Linked DNA regions of Homo sapiens: region 1 is linked to region 2. The links are contacts of gene promoters, found by promoter capture Hi-C in human tissues and cell types (Jung and others, 2019). All regions are on one chromosome and are shown on one strand. Each heading gives the region's core, a stretch centred on a gene start or on the middle of the fragment in contact. The rest is flanking DNA. Distances are from core to core; before and after follow the strand shown.

What was found. The method cuts DNA at HindIII sites, captures the fragments that hold promoters and counts their contacts. A contact is called where the count stands out against the background at its distance.
Region 1: a contact is called between a fragment that was not itself captured here and the fragment with the promoter of SLITRK5 in region 2, in 6 of the 25 tissues and cell types used here (aorta, dorsolateral prefrontal cortex, hippocampus and 3 more).

What each region holds. Positions count from the first base shown.
Region 1 is chr13:87,625,998-87,628,697 of GRCh38, reverse strand. The region is part of intron 1 of LOC124900338 (formin-like protein 5); the gene reads left to right. LOC124903229 (NADH-ubiquinone oxidoreductase chain 5-like) reads left to right here and starts at 280. Exons shown (of 3, transcript XM_047430846.1): 1 at 280-716; 2 at 785-1,018. The coding sequence starts at 280. All of the region lies in intron 1 of MIR4500HG (MIR4500 host gene), which reads left to right. The HindIII fragment of the contact is 5,299 bases long and covers 1-2,700 here.
Region 2 is chr13:87,670,033-87,672,732 of GRCh38, reverse strand. SLITRK5 (SLIT and NTRK like family member 5) reads right to left here and starts at 1,362. Exons shown (of 2, transcript NM_001384609.1): 1 at 524-1,362. It overlaps LOC124900338 (formin-like protein 5), which reads left to right and starts at 366. Exons shown (of 2, transcript XM_047430855.1): 1 at 366-1,897. The coding sequence starts at 428. The coding sequence ends at 952. MIR4500HG (MIR4500 host gene) reads left to right here and starts at 1,770. Exons shown (of 6, transcript NR_033829.1): 1 at 1,770-1,897. RefSeq lists an enhancer at 1,134-1,635. The HindIII fragment of the contact is 26,915 bases long and covers 1-2,700 here.

The DNA.
Region 1 (2,700 bases), core at 118-2,617, 44 kb after region 2:
ACATGGCTTTAGGGAATTTGCAGAGAATAGGCAGATAATGTCCCTGGTACATAGACGATAACTTCCAGTAGTAGAGACAGATAACAAATACATGAATAAATGTAGTTAATTGCAATAGTAATAAATGTTGTAAAAAATTTAAAGTGGGTCATGTGCAGTGGTTCACACATGTAATCCCAGCACTTTGGGAAGCAGAGAAGGGCAGACTGGTTGAGCCCAGGAGTTCAATACCAGCCTGAGCAACATGGTGAGACCCTGTCTCTACAAAATATATATGTGTATATATATACACATATATACGTATATATGTGTATATATATACACATATATACGTATATATGTGTATATACACATATATACATATATGTGTATATATGTACACATATATGTGTGTATATATGTACACATATATGTGTGTATATATGTACACATATATGTGTGTATATATGTATACATATATGTGTGTATATGTATACATATATGTGTGTATATGTATACATATATGTGTGTATATATGTATACATATATATGTGTATATATGTATACATATATGTGTATATATGTATACATATATGTGTATATATGTATACATATATATGTGTACATATATATGTGTATATATGTGTACATATATATGTGTATATATGTGTGTATATATGTGTACATATATATGTGTATATATGTATACATATATATGTGTATATATGTATACATATATATGTGTATATATGTATACATATATATGTGTATATATGTATACATATATATGTGTATATATGTATACATATATATGTGTATATGTGTATACATATATATGTGTATATGTGTATACATATATATGTGTATATGTGTATACATATATATGTGTATATGTGTATACATATATATGTGTATATGTGTATACATATATATGTGTATATGTGTATACATATATACGTATATGTATACATATATGTATACATATATATGTGTATATATGTATATATGTGTATATATATACATATATATACATATATTTGTATATATGTGTATATATACACCAAAATTAGCCAGACATGATGGCGTGTGCCTGTGTCTCAGGTACTTGAGAGGCTGAGGTGGGAGGATCTCTTGAACTTGGTTGATGGAGGTTACAGTGAGTCAAGATTGTGCCACTGCATTCCAGCACAGGTGACGGAGTGAGACCCTGTCAAAAAAATAATTAATTAAAAGTGGGCACTGTATAAGGTAAGGACTGTAAGAAGAACAAATTTAAGTAAAACAGTTAGAGAAATCTAGCAAAACAAAGCTTGTGAGTTTGCTGAACATTGGATTGATTTGAAGAACATAAACTTTACAGACCTGCAGAATAGTAAAAGATGGTGAATGCAGAAGGAAATTAGTTTGCAAATGTGGCCAGAGATCAAGAAGGACCTGTTAGTCTCTGGTAAGTAACCTGAGCTTCTGTTTGTTTTTTAATTCATTGGGAAATCTTGGGAAGGTTACAAGAAAATAAATTATGGATAATTAGAGTTCTTGTTATTTAACAGACCACCCCAAGCTTTTTGGCATAAAACAATATTTTCTTTGGCTCACCAATCTGCAGTTTGGTGAAATGAAGGCTTATCTTTGCTTCATCACATCATCTGCATCAGCTCAACTGGGAGCTGGGAGATTCCACTTGAAAAAGAAATCTCTCTTCCACGGGTGCAAATTAATGCAGTTGACTAGAAACTCAGCTGGTGCTGAGGGGCAGAAGCCTCTGTTCCTTTCCACGTGAACTTCCTCAGAAAGGCTTCTCTGCTGCACTCTCTGGGCTTGACGACAAGGTAGCTGGACATAAGGTGAGCCTCCCAGGAGACAGAAAGTGGAAACTAGCAGTTTCTTTTATACTTGTTCTGGGAACTGGCACATCATTTTTATCTGACACTATTGATTATGTGTACAGAGTCCACATTTCAGGGAGAGGCATAGACTGTATTTCTCAATGGAAGGAATATTAAATAATTTTGGGACCACACTCTCTTCTGACCCCCAATTATTTACATTTCTCCCACATTCAATATATAGTCACACCAAGAAACCCCAGGATTTTTGTGCCATTACAGCATCAGGAAGAAAATCAACGACTGAGATCTCATCATCTAAATTATGTATATATATATGGATGATGCCCTTTAGTTGCTGTTCCTTGGGTATGTCTCCTTGAGTACAGTTCTCCTTTGAAATAAAGCTATAGGAAATAAAGAGGCAAGCTCTCTTCCCTCAACATACCCAAAATTTATTGGTTGGACAGACATAGGCTAATTACAATTGTCGTTGAAGGGGGTGAGTAAAAAGGAAGCCCAGTCCCTTATCCATAGTAATCTTTAAATCCAGCTAAAAAATATTGCTAAATATTTAAAGGCCAGGTGCAGTGGCTCGCGCCTGTAATCCCAGCACTTTGGGAGGCTGAGGCAGGCGGATCACAAAGTCAGGAGTTCGAGACCAGCCTGGCCAATCTGGTGACACCCCGTCTCTACTAAAATACAAAAATTAACCGGGCGTGGTGGCATGCACCTGTAAACCCAGCTACTCGGGAGGCTGAGGCAGAAGAATTGCTTGAACATGGGAGGTGGAGGTTGCAGTGAGCCGAGATCATGCCACTGCACTCCAGCCTGGACGACAGAGCAGACGCAGATTCCATCGTGCTCTCTCTCTCTCTCTCTCTCTATATATATA
Region 2 (2,700 bases), core at 113-2,612:
TCAAGCCCAGGCAGGGCGAGGAGACTGCGAGCAGCGCAGTCCCAGAGGCTGGAGGAAAGAGGCGCCCGGACGCCTCCAGCCTGGGGCCGCCGCCGCGGTGGCGACCGCGGGTTCCGGGGCTCCCCAAAAGGCTCTCCCCGGTGCTCTCCGCGGTAGTCGGAGCGGGCAGCAGGGTTGGGGGGTGGAGAGCGGGGGGCGTTCTGCAGCGGCGGGATAGGGAGGCGGCGGGAGGGGGCGGCGGAGGTCCGGCTGGAGAGGCGCCTCGCGGTAGGGGCCGGGAGCCGGAGCCGGGCGGGGCGGGGAGGGGGAGCTGCTGGGAGGGGAGGCACGGAGCGGGAGGAGGGGGACGCGGAGAAGACTGCCTGGCCCCGCCGGCCCCGCCAACGTGACGGTCAGCCCCGCCGAGCGCTCGCACCCGCTCACACTCATGATCACTCGCACACTCGCTCCAATACGTGTTAAGGCGCGATCGCGGGGTCCCTGGCAGCCTTCGCTGCACCCTCCCCCCCACAGGGGTACTCACAGTTGCCATCTGCATAGGGGGCAACTTTCTCCGACCCAGCTGTGGCCGCCGCCCCCTCCAGCCTCCTCTGGCTCCTCGCACCCTCCGGCCTGGGTTCGCGCCGGCCGGCCCTCCCCTCCCCCCTCGGCTCTCCTCCTCGCCGTCTTCACCACATTCCCCCCTGGTCAGTGGCGCACGCCGGGGGACGAGCCAGAGGGAGCGGGTCGCGGGGGTGTGCATGCATCTCCCGCCTTCTTCTTGCAGCGCACACTGTACATGGTAGTGAGGGGGCGAGCAAAGGTGGCACCGGCCCCTCGGCTGCTCCAGCGAAGGCGGCGGCTGCAGCTCCTGCGCTGTCCTCCGCCCCCCAGCGCAGCGGCGACCACCGCGCTGGGATCCCGCCGACGCTGTCTCCGCGCCGAGCCCGCCGCCGCCGCGGCCCCTAATTAGTATTTGAGAGGCTCTTGCATCCCTTTGGCAGTTTCATCCTCACGGTGTTTGCAGGGTTTTTTTCTGTATCCCTTCCCCAGATGCGGCGCACAATCGTCATTAGTTGGAACTCTCTATCACCGACATCCTTTGGGGTTTCTGGGGGAAGGGGGGGGCGGGCAGCAACCGCGTCGTTCTATGCCTGTGGCTTGTCCTGGCAGCCCGGTGGCTCTAAAAAAAACTCCGAGAAAGTTGCGTCTTCCTCCCGGGCGCCGAGGAGGTGGCAACGCGGTAAGCAACACCGGGTCTCTGAGACAGCTGCTCCGGAGCGGGTGCAGGGCCCAGTCCAGTGCACTTGTTTATTGTCGCGCCTCTGGTGCGAGCCAAGCTGCAGCAGACATGATGGGCCCGGGGCGAAGCGGGCGCTCGGTGGCCGATAGATGGCAGCCGAGGGCGAAGGCGTCCCTGGGCTAGGGCGGCGCAACCGGGGCCCCCTTGGATGTCACATTCGTAGGAAGAGAGAGAAGTCTTGGACCATGTGTGTAATTCGAGCGTGGGACTGTGCAATTCTCGGATTGGGAAAGGGAGGAGTGGAAATAACCCCGGCAGTGCCAGGCTTGCTGGTGGTCAGGAACAGATGATTCCAGCCCTGTGCTGATCGCCTGCCTTCCTCCTGCCATTCAGAATGCTGCTGTCTCGTGTACTTACTGTTAAGGATCCTGGAAAAGGGAGTGGTTCCTCCTAGCTGCAAACAAGGGCGCTACTTTTCTTTTCTCTTTAATAGAATTACGTTTTATAGGTGTGTCTAGGCAACACAAGGGAATGTGAAAGACTTTCAGAGGGAATGTTTGTGAATACATCTGGTGTGTACTAAAAAGCTGGAAAACCCCTAAGTAAATGCAATATCGATAGAAAGCGAGTTTCTTGAAGAGTCATCTGCTAAACTCCACTAGAGTCATCTCTACAGTAAGTATTCTTGGGTCTTTCCATGAAACCAGACACTTCCATCCCCAAAAAGGGGTCTTTACTTTCATAAGACATGTTTTCAATATTTGTAATATTAGACCTGCCGTTCATCCCGGGTATAAGAGAAAAGTTGATAATAGTAAGTGACCCAGTGCAGGCTGAGTGCACATGTGCCTGTTCCTTTGATAACTATGTAGTTAGTTTCTCCATGTAAATATATTTTACCCACTTTATTTTGCAATTAATTACGTCTTAATTATTATTGATATTGTTTTATTCTTAGTAATATTTGGGATAATACTGTGTTATAATCTGGTTAATCATATGTTTAATATTGATATAGAGTCTGATAATATGTCTATGTTCTGAGATGTATATATATCTCAGGTGATGAACATTGCAGTCTCCTGAGGTACTGCAATCTTTTTTGAACTTTCCCCTGCGTATGTTGTGTGAATATATATATTTTTACTTTATACCATAAAAACTTTATTTGGAAGCAATTTTGTTTAAGTATGGGTTATATTCAAGGGAGAGGAAGGAAAGAAGTAATATGTAATTTCAGACAATAAAAACAAAATCTTGTAATGAACGTTTCATTAAATTTAGAAGCATTTGACCTAGGAATGATAGCCACTAGCTGTAGATACATTGCATCAACAAATATAACTTACACGTCATCCACAAAAGGCTTATTTCTGTATTTTTTATTCAGTCATTAACTTTTAACATTATATAAACATTTCAGAAAATTTATTTTAAGTTTAAAATTACTTTTATATTTTCAAAATGAAATGAAATAT